2 separate regions of the Homo sapiens genome follow, and region 1 is linked to region 2. The links are contacts of gene promoters, found by promoter capture Hi-C in human tissues and cell types (Jung and others, 2019). All regions are on one chromosome and are shown on one strand. The core of a region is centred on a gene start or on the middle of the fragment in contact, and the rest is flanking DNA. Distances in the headings are between cores, read along the strand shown. Region 1 overlaps LOC100630923 (LOC100289561-PRKRIP1 readthrough). Region 2 holds the start of SH2B2 (SH2B adaptor protein 2).

Region 1 (5,053 bases), core at 605-3,104, 93 kb after region 2:
TTCATCTGCATTTTACTGGCCCAGATAATATATATTTTCCCTCCCTTTCTTCCTCCCCTCCCCTCCCTCGCTTCCTTCCTTCCTTCCTTTTTGAGATGGAGTCTCACTCTGGTCACCCAGGCTGGAGTGCAATGGCATGATCTCGGCTCAGTGCAGCCTCCCCCTCTCAGGTTCAAGGGATTCTCCTGCCTCACCCTCCCAAAGCAGCCGGGATTACAGGTGCACACCACCATGCCTGGCTAATTTTTATATTTTTAGTAGAGATGGGGTTTCACCATATTGGTCAGGCTCGTCTCTAACTCCTGACCTTGTGATCCGCCTGCCTCATCCTCTCAAAGTGCTGGGATTACAGGCCTGAGCCACTGTGCCCAGCCTATTTATTTATTGAGACAGAGTCTCACTCTGTCACTGAGGCTGGAGCGCACTGGCGCAATCTTGGCTCATGATAACCTCTGCCTCCCAGGTTCAAGTGATTCTTGTGCCTCAGCCGCCCGAGTAGCTGGGATTACAGGTGTGCACCATCATGCCCGGCCTATTTTTGTATTTTTAGTAGAGACGGGGATTCAGTCTGTTGGCCAGGAGTTCACTCTGTTGGGCTCCTGGCCTTGTGAGCTGCCTGCCTCAGCTTCCCAAAGTGCTGGGATTACAGGCGTGAGCACTGCACCCAGCCCCCTTCATTTAATTTTAAATTGTGGTTAAAAAAAGAACCTAACATGGCCGGGCGTGGTGGCTCATACCTGTAATCCCAGCACTTTGGGAGGCCGAGGCGGGCAGATCACGAGGTCAGGAGATCAAGACCATCCTGGTGAACACAGTGAAACCCCATCTCTACTAAAAATACAAAAAAATTAGCTGAGTGTGGTGGCGGGCACCTGTAGTCCTAGCTACTTGGGAGGCTGAGGCAGGAGAATGGCATGAACCTGGGGGGCGGACTTGCAGTGAGCAGAGATCGCACCACTGCACTCCAGTCTGGGCGACAGAGCGAGACTCCGTCTCAAAAAAAAAAAAAACCACGTTTGACCTAGCCCAAAGATTCCAGCACATAAGAACTCCAGGGAAATGAGTGGCTCACAATAAACCTAGTAAACCTATAAAGACAACTGGAATTAAAATGTGCTCAGGTCCTTGTAGAAGACAAGAAATCCAAAGGAAATCAAGCAAAGGGGGAAAAAGAAACAGAAAAGATAAAATGAATGTACCAACTCAATACTAGGCCATAAGGCTAAGTCTCCATAAATTTCTTTCTTTTTTTTTTTTTTTGAGACAGAGTCTCACTCTGTTACCCAGGCTGGAGTGCCGTGGCACAATCTCAGCTCATTGCAACCTCTGCCTCCCGGATTCAAGCAATTCTCACGCCTCAGCCTCCCAAGTGGCTGGGATTACAGACAAACGCCACCACATGCAGCTAATTTTTTTATTTTTAGTAGAGACAGGGTTTCAGCATGTTGGCCAGGCTGGTCTCAAACTCCTGGCCTCAAGTGATCTGCCTGCCTCAGCCTCCCCAAGTGCTGGGATCAAAGGTGTGAGCCACTGTGCCCAGCCCCTACATAAATTTCAAACACCACATTCCCTGAATACAACACAAAAAAGTTAGAAATCAAATAATGAAAATATAACTAGCAAAATTCTGTATGTTTGAAAATTTTAAATATTTTCCCAGAAACTATAAAACTACATGTTAATGTGGATAAATCTCAAACAATCTTAACTGAAATAATTAAATCACAGAAGCCTGAATAATGGATTCATTTACATAATTAAAGAACACATTCATAGTGGTAACACTATAATGAAAGATGAGAAAGATTAACACAAAGTTCACCCTAGTGTTTACCTATGGGTAATAAGGGGACTGTGAGGTAGGGTAGAAAGAAGGTACACAAAGGATCTCTACAGCACTATTAATGTTTCACTTCTTGAGCTGGGGCTAGAGATCTGGGTAATCATTTCATTTTTATTTTTTAAACTACATATAAGCTTTGTACACTTTTGGATATTAGAACTTCAATAAAATTATAAAAAAGAGAAACAGGGGAAAAAGTATAATTGTCAAGATGGAGCTAAAAAAATAACATGGGTGAACAAGGTGCCACCCACATGCAAGCTTCCTTCCCATGTCATGTAATGCCTCTCCTCATCTGCTCCATCAATCAATAAAGGCATAATCACTCCTGTGATACCTTTAAGAAAAGAACACACTCTCTCAAAGCTGGGTGCAGTGGTGCACGCCTGTAATCCCAGCCTCCTTTGGGAGGCCGAGGCGGGCAGATCACCTGAGGTCAGGAGTTGGAGACCAGCGAAACCCATCTCTACTAAAAATACAAAAATTAGCTGGGCGTGGTGGTGCTTGTCTGTAATCCCAGCTACTTGGGAGGCTGAGGCATGAGAATCGCTTGAAACCAGGAGGCAGAGGCTGCAGTGAGCCGAGACTGTGCCACTGCACTCCAGCCTGGGTGACAGAAAGAGACTCTGTCTCAAAAAAAAAAAAGGAACATGCTCTCTCATTCAAGGTTACCCTTCTATCACTCCAAGGATTCACTCCATAATCTTATCTTTCTTGATATGTTACATTCACTAAAACGTTCACATCAAATCAAGTTTGTAGACACTTGTCCTTACCACCTTACAAAAAGTGAGATGGTATCAACAGAGGTGAGACACTGCTTTACCTGCATGTCACTTTTGGCAGCTTTCACAGCATTGAAAAGATCATTGGCTGGTGGCTCTGACTGTTTCCGGCTATGACGATGTACCACTCGGGACCCTTTCTCTGGATGTTTGCCATCTAATATGTATAAAAAGATCAGAAATATGAAAAAAAGGTAACAATGACATTAACACTTGGTCTCATCATTATCACACAAGTAGGCTTATGCTGCCACTTCCATGGCAGAGTCTGAGTTAGTCCTGAAATAATTGATTTTTATATTATGAAGTTTATTAACTTTTTTCCCTTAAAAAAAAAAAGTCCTTGAGTCCCCTTCCTGTATCCCTATATCCTAACGTCCTTTTCTCTTCTTTTCTCTTCAAAATTTCTCTTCTTCCTATTTCCGTCCCTTAACACTTTGTAAATCTTGTCCTTTTATGAACCATATCACCTGAACCTCTTTTAGGTTTTTTTTTTTTTTTTTTTTTGAGACGGAGTGTCGCTCTATCACCCAGGCTGGAGTTCAGTGGCGTGATCTCGGCTCACTGCCAGCTCTGCCCCCTGGGTTCATGCTATTGTCCTGCCTCAGCCTCCCAAGTAGCTGGGCTGCTTCCCCCACAAGATTCAAAAACAAAAGAAAACTGGCTGACTCACCGGTGTTGCTTTTGGTGGTCGTTTTGCTGCTTTCTTCTTCACACTGTGATTCAAGCTGTCTTCAAAGTCATTGCCTTCATCAGCTAATAAAGAGTCAGTATTCCTGTGAGAAAGTACCGTTCTCTTTAAATATAACCACCCTAATTCCCTCCATATAAAAGGCTAATGAATTAGTTTCTCTGTCTCTCACTGCATCCCATCTCCATGAGAAAAACATATTCAGAATTTAAGAAAAAATGAGCTTATTGTTAGTAGGAAGTTGGGACAAAGTCTTTTTTTTTTTTTTGAGACAGAGTTTCACTCCTGTCACCCAGGCTGGAGTGCAATGGTGTGATCACGGCTCACTGCAACCTCCACCTCCCAGGTTCAAGTGATTCTCCTGCCTCAGTCTCCCGAGTAGCTGGGATTACAGGTGTTTCACCATGTTGGCCAGGCTGGTCTCAAACTCCTGACCTCAGGTGATCCACCTGCCTTGGCCTCCCAAAGTGTTGGGATTACAGGCGTAAGCCACCACACCCGGCCAGGACAAAGTCTTAAAGGAAAACTTTCACATGAAAGCAGTGGAGACGAAGAATGAGGAAATGAGGCACGGGAAGGACAACCCTTCCTAGTATTCTCTCCGAAGAAGAGAATCAAATGCTACTCACTTAGCGGGTAGAGAGATCACTGCTCTTTGTAGAGAAAAACAATCATGGCCCAGGAAGTCATCCATCACTCATCCATAAATGGGAGAGTAATATGGACCTAGAGTTAAATTTCACCCATGAAACATCAACCACATGTCATATCAATTCAAGTGTGTAACATTGATATAATCGGGTACACCACAGCAGCACTGACAGAAACAGAAATGATTCAGAGAAAGCCAATTAAAACAGCCAGGGGATAAAGCAGATCTGTATGACATTAGCTTTTTTCCTTCTGGAAAGATAAAAAACCAAGATATATTATTATAACCTACACAAAATAACCTCATATGTGGTAATAAATAAGGATACACAGACCTGTTTACAAAATCCCCAAGTAGAAGAACTAGGGGACACCAGATAAAAAGTTTATACAATTTACCAGGCAACAAGTAAAGAACTCTTTACTCACCCATCTGCCACCTCCCAGCCCCCACCAGGGGTTGTACATGCTGAACACAGAAATGTGTTTAAGAGAGGTTTAGACACGATGGATGATGGATTAAAAACAGGATGTGCTTGAACCCGGAAGGCGGAGGTTGCAGTGAGCCAAGATCACACCACTGCACTCCAGCCTGGGCGACAGGGCAAGATTCCATCTCATACAAACAAACAAACAAACAAAAAACAGGATGTACTACTATTTTGATGTCTACAACATCTAGGACCACCAAAAAAAAAACACCTGGAGCTGGAGGGAGGGTGTCACTGTGCTGAACGAGTACAGCACTTCTGGTGTATTCACACAGTCCCACGAATATTATCATCAATGTGGGAAAACGAGAGGGGGAAGGCTGCCACGGACACAGGAAGTGGCCGCACAATGCAACATCTACTTACCCTCTGAGGGATGGTTTGAGTCCCTGTCATCGAAGGGTAGACTGGCAGAGGAACTAGAAGATGCAGACAAGGCCCTCTTGGTATCTCCCACAGCTCTCTGCAGTGGGGAAGACATGCTTGGTGAGGAGGAGCTATGGGGCCAGGAAGACGACGACCGCAGGGTAGGTTTGGCGATCCAGCTGGGGAAGAAAGAGAAGAAAGGGCTCCTACCACAGCACTTCTCCAT
Region 2 (4,841 bases), core at 2,236-4,735:
CTGGTGGCAGAGGTCCCTCAGCTGCGAGGCTAATTGGGTGACCACCGATTCCAGCTGCGGTTAATCCAGCTTGGGCCTGTCTGCACTGCGATCCTCTTGGGCTCTCCTAGGATCCCCCCATGCCCCGTAAGAGGTGGAAGACGCTTCCTTCCAGGACAGCAGGCTTTGAGTCCAGCACCCCCAGCCTGCCTTTGCCACCAGCCCCACCCTGCAGAGTATATGAGGCTTGACAGAGTCTGCCCCCTCCCCCACTGCACCCCAAGAGAGAGAGCCCCAGCCAGCGGAACAGTTTCTATTACCCCCTCCCTGCCCCCAGACCCATGTGATTTCTGCTTTCTTCTTTAGCAAGATATTCTGGTTTCTAGATAAGGAAGAGTCTCTAATGAGCCCCCGAGCCCCAGTCTCTTCAGACTCATGGATTGGTATGAGGGGTCTGAACGTCTCCTAGCCAATCAGAACTGGCTGTGGACCACCCTAGCACGGCCACCTCTCAGGGCCACTGGCAGGCCTTCCTGAGTTAGATTTGTAGTTGCATATTTAGCTTTGCACATTTGAAATAAACCACGGTTGCAGCCACCCTGGTGCCCTGTGCTCTGGGACGCTGGAGGGACTGGAGGCTGGTGGGGATGCCTGCGGTGCCACCCCTGGGAGCTGGGGCTGGCCTCACAGCTGGGCACACAGAACATTCCTCCCCCTCTTCTCATCTCCAGGAATTCCATGAGTACATTCAGAGCTCTGCTGAAACCCAGATCCAGTGTCCGAGTGCTTTTGAGAGGACAAGTAGCACCATCAAAAAGGGAAACCCATTCCTTTATTCAAAAACCACCCGGGGCCAGGCGCGGTGGGTCACACCTGTAATCCCAGCGCTTTGGGAGGCCGAGGCAGGTGGATCACTTGAGGTCAGGAGTTCGTGACCAGCCTGGCCAACGTGGTGAAACCCCGTCTCTACCAAAAATACAAAAATTAGCTGGGCATGGTGGCGCATGCCTGTAATCCCAGCCACTCAGGAGGGTGAGGCAGGAGAATCGTTTGAACCCGGGAGGCGGAGGTTGCAGTGAGCTGAGATCGTGCCAGTGCACTCCAGCCTGGGAAACAGAGTGAGACTCCATCTCAAAAAAAAAAAAAAAACCACCTGTCGGGCTGTGGTTGGGTGTATGACGTGTCTTGGTCCACGTCAGTTCCTGGGGAATCTCTGCTTCCCTTTCTGTGCTCCCCTTTCCCATGGGCCCCCGCCTGCCAGGGGCTGCAAAGCCCGTGCCCATCAATCTCCCTGAGCACCAGCCTCGCATGGGAACCCCCCGAGACACAGGTTCTGGGCCACCTCACCTCCAGCCCAGCCTCAGATAGAGGAGCGCATTCTCTGGGTCTGGAGTGGGTGCATTAACTCATTGTCCAGCTGTCACAAGACTGGCTGCAAACCCAGGTCCCCCACTGCAGCCCACCAGGCCAGGGTCCCCTGTGCTACCTCTGTCTCCATTTTAGTTCTGAACAGTCTAAAGCATGTGTATCCAGGGGCCTTTCTTTGGGGTCCCCGTCCCAGCACCCCTCATCTCCCCCATGAGGACTTCTTCCAAGCCCCTCAAGCCTCCTGCCCTCAGGGACCCAGGATGGACCTTTCCTCCCTGACCTTCATTCCTATCCCCAGCGAGGCGACAGCTGCTCTTGGCCAACCACGCCCCCTCCACCCCCACAGCCACTTCCACATCTCCATCAGTTCCTCCTTGTGGGTCCGAGGCGCTCTGCCGCCGGCCCCTCCTCACTTCTTCCTCCCTGGGGATGGATCCAAGCTATTGTCCTGCCCATGGCTTCCCATCTCAGGACCCTCTCTGGCCGCTATCATCCCAGCAGTGGAGTTCAGCCCACTACTCTGAACCAGGTTAGTCCACCGCGGGTCAGGCTCTCCCCTCTCCCAGGAGGGTGGAGACCACAACCAGGCCATGTATGGAGCTTCCCTTTCTCCCACTCTCGGGCACCCCCTCCTCCCCCTTCCCGGCCTCATTCATAGGTGTCCTGGTTCCCAACCAGGCGTGCAGGCCTGTGTGCAGCTCCGATCGAGGGCTGGCCCACTGCCGAAGCTTTCATTAAAGTGTCTGCTGGCCTGGTCCTGCGGAGGGAACAGAGCCGAGATGTGGGGCAGGGAAGGGGTCTGCCTGTCTTCCGTGCCCCCGTGGAGGGCAGCACCGGGGTTTTGGGCAGCAGGTGAAGGCTCTGTCCCCTCCACCTTCAACTCTGGAAGCCCCACCTTTCCATCCCTAAGAAGGGTTTGATAAAAACCCTTGTCTGTAAATTAGAGATGGGAAATGGCTCTGGGAAAAGTCAGAGGTCAGTTTGGGCCCGGGAGGGCGACAGATGGAGGCAGCTCCGGCTGGCAAGGAGACCAGGACAGAACTGCCAGAGGTGGGGGCAGGGGACAAGGAGGGAGATGAGGGGAGAAGACACCCAGGGGTCCCCCCCTGCTATCTCCAGGAGCAAGACTACTCTCTTCTCTGAGCGGCCCTTTCCACACCTCTGCCCCCACCGAAGCCCTCCCTCCCCTCTCAGACCCCTTCCAGGCCTGCTGAGCCCCCTGCACCTCTTTCAGGAAGCCTCCCAGAGCCCCCGCGCTGTGCCCTCAGCACCAGGGGTCAGGCTACAAATGCCCCGCAAAGCCCAGCGGGACTGTTTCCTCAGCCCCACTGGTCTCTGCCCTAAAGCAGGCGAGTTCTGGAGCCAGGCAGGGGTGAGGAAGGTGCCAGGGTTGTGGCCCCTCATCGCCCCTCTATGATCTCTGACACCTCTCCGGGTGGCATCAGGCCCCCATCACAGCGAAGGCTGGGTGGTGGGGGCACTGCGCTCAGGGGGGCCGTCCCGCCCTGTGGCCCGGGGGCGATTTCCCGCACCGGAGGGCTGCAGGGAGGGGGCGTGGTGGCGCCCTCGAGATTTATGAGAACCAGGCGTCGACTTCCTCCGTTGCGACATCCAGGCCTCCTCCAGGCTCCCATTGTCCCTGCTGCGGAGAGTCTGGCCACAGCGGCGGCTCCCGCGAAGCACCCGTCAGCGAGGGGCGCTTCGAGGGCGTCCGCGTCCCATACACCCGCCACGCAGGACATTCCCCCGGCCCCACGCTCCGCGCTCCCGGGGCCACCACCACCGCGGGCTCGAGGGGTGGCCTCCACGAGGAGGAGTGGGAGTCCCGCGCCTGGCCTGGGGCCGGCTCGGCGACATGGGGACCCCCGCCCAGATGGGGCGACTCGGAGCCGGCTCCTAACCCCTCTCTCCGGGCCCCAGGACCGGGCAGTCTCGGCACCGCAGCTGCGGGGAGCCAGCAAGCACCGGCCACCGGCGCCGCTCGGGCTCCGCGGATGGCCGGGGGCGGGGCCTGAGCGGCGCAAGTGGGGGCGGGAGGGGGCGGGGCCAGGACGCGCGAGGGGGGGCGGGGCCGGGGCTCGCGGCGGGGGCGGGGGCGGGGCGGGGCCGGGAGGCGCGCGCCTCGCGGGCGGAGGGGCGCGCCGCGCTGGGGCTGGGCTTGGAGCGCGCGGAGCTCGGCTGCCAGAGAGCCGCGCGGGGGACGCGCCGGGACCGCGAGGAGCGCAGGAGCCTTCGAGGCGGTGAACGAGGGAGGGAGCCCAGTCCGCCGCGGGCCATGAGCCACCGGGCCCGGGGAGCCCGGCCGCGGTCCGGGCAGCGCTCAGCCGGCGCCCCAGCCCGCTCGGCCGCAGCTGCGCGCCTGTAGGTATGGCCTCCTTATACCCAGTTCCTCGCTCCCTGGTCCTTCCCCCGGGACCCCTGTCTGTCCCCGGGGACGTGCGCTGTGTGCGCACCGCTGCCCGAAGGAGAGCGGCCGCACGCGCCTTGGTCCGCGCGTGTCGTCTTTGTGTGCGCGGGTGGGAGGGAGGAGGGCGCGCGAGGGAGGGGAGGCGCCCCCGGCTGGGATCTGCTCCCCGATCCCCATCCCGGGCGGGGCGGGGAGCCGCTGGAGGGGCCGAGCCGCCTCTGGAGCAGCTGCGCCCCCGCCCCCTGCTAGGGCCCCGGCCGGGTAGTGGGGCGAGAGCAGCCGGGTCCTTAGAGGAGGGGTCTCTGGTTGGGGGAAGGGGTGCCCAGGTCTCTTCCCTACGCTGGGAGCGCTGGGAGGGGGCGTCAACCTAGAATGAGGGTGAGGGCCACGGGATGGGATCGGGGAGGACCTCCTCCAGGCCACAGGCACGCCCTCCCTTTGGCCCAGGCCCCCCTTTCTCGACCTGCCCAGCCGGGGAGCTCCCCGGAGCCCCCGATTGCCGGGAGGATCGTGGAGGGTGCCCAAGAGGCCGGCGCCTTTAAGAAGGGGCGGGTTCGTGCCCTCCATTCAGGCCCTTGGGCCTCGGCCATTGATGAACCTGCGGGCTGCGCGGGCCGGAACCGCGCCAGCCCAGCGGGCTGAAGCCGGGCAGAGGCAGGGACGCATCCTGGCCCCCTGCAGCCCCGAAGTGGGGGCCTTCAGGGAGGGAAGTCTGCAGTGACTGGAGCCTCTCAGGAGCCACGCAAGGCAGACCGGGCAGCCCCAGGCGAGACTCTGAACACGAATAAGCCAGGATCTACGTGCACTTCGAGCTAGTGCAAGGGAGAGCCTCAGGCTAGGCTGTCAGACCTGGGTGGAGCCCTACCAATGCCCCCGAGCCAACATCACCTACCCTGTAAAATGGGATGGTGCTGCCTGCCTCCTGGCTAAGGGACCGGCAACTCCCGGCAGGAATTGCGTCCCAGAGTCAGGTCCCTGGAGCTCCTCTGGGAGGACTGGGGGCAGGGGGTGTGGTTTCCCCAAGAGGTTTTGACTGCCTCTTGAGCTGAAGCCCCCACTACTGTGTCCCACCTTGAACTCTCCCAAC

What was found. Contacts are between HindIII fragments. The study calls those that stand out against the background at their distance.
Region 1: a fragment that was not itself captured here is called in contact with the fragment with the promoter of SH2B2 in region 2 in 7 of the 25 tissues and cell types used here (H1 embryonic stem cells, IMR-90 fibroblasts, aorta and 4 more).

The regions. Positions count from the first base shown.
Region 1 is chr7:102,377,796-102,382,848 of GRCh38, forward strand. All of the region lies in intron 4 of LOC100630923 (LOC100289561-PRKRIP1 readthrough), which reads left to right. It also overlaps the pseudogene LOC100289561. Among named protein-coding and RNA genes, the nearest start is that of PRKRIP1, 16 kb to the right of the region's middle. The HindIII fragment of the contact is 5,110 bases long and covers 1-4,409 here.
Region 2 is chr7:102,283,383-102,288,223 of GRCh38, forward strand. SH2B2 (SH2B adaptor protein 2) reads left to right here and starts at 3,486. Exons shown (of 9, transcript NM_001359228.2): 1 at 3,486-3,712. It also overlaps a transcript of CUX1 not described here. RefSeq lists silencers at 842-1,026, 2,804-3,383, 3,454-3,993. The HindIII fragment of the contact is 12,688 bases long and covers 1-4,138 here.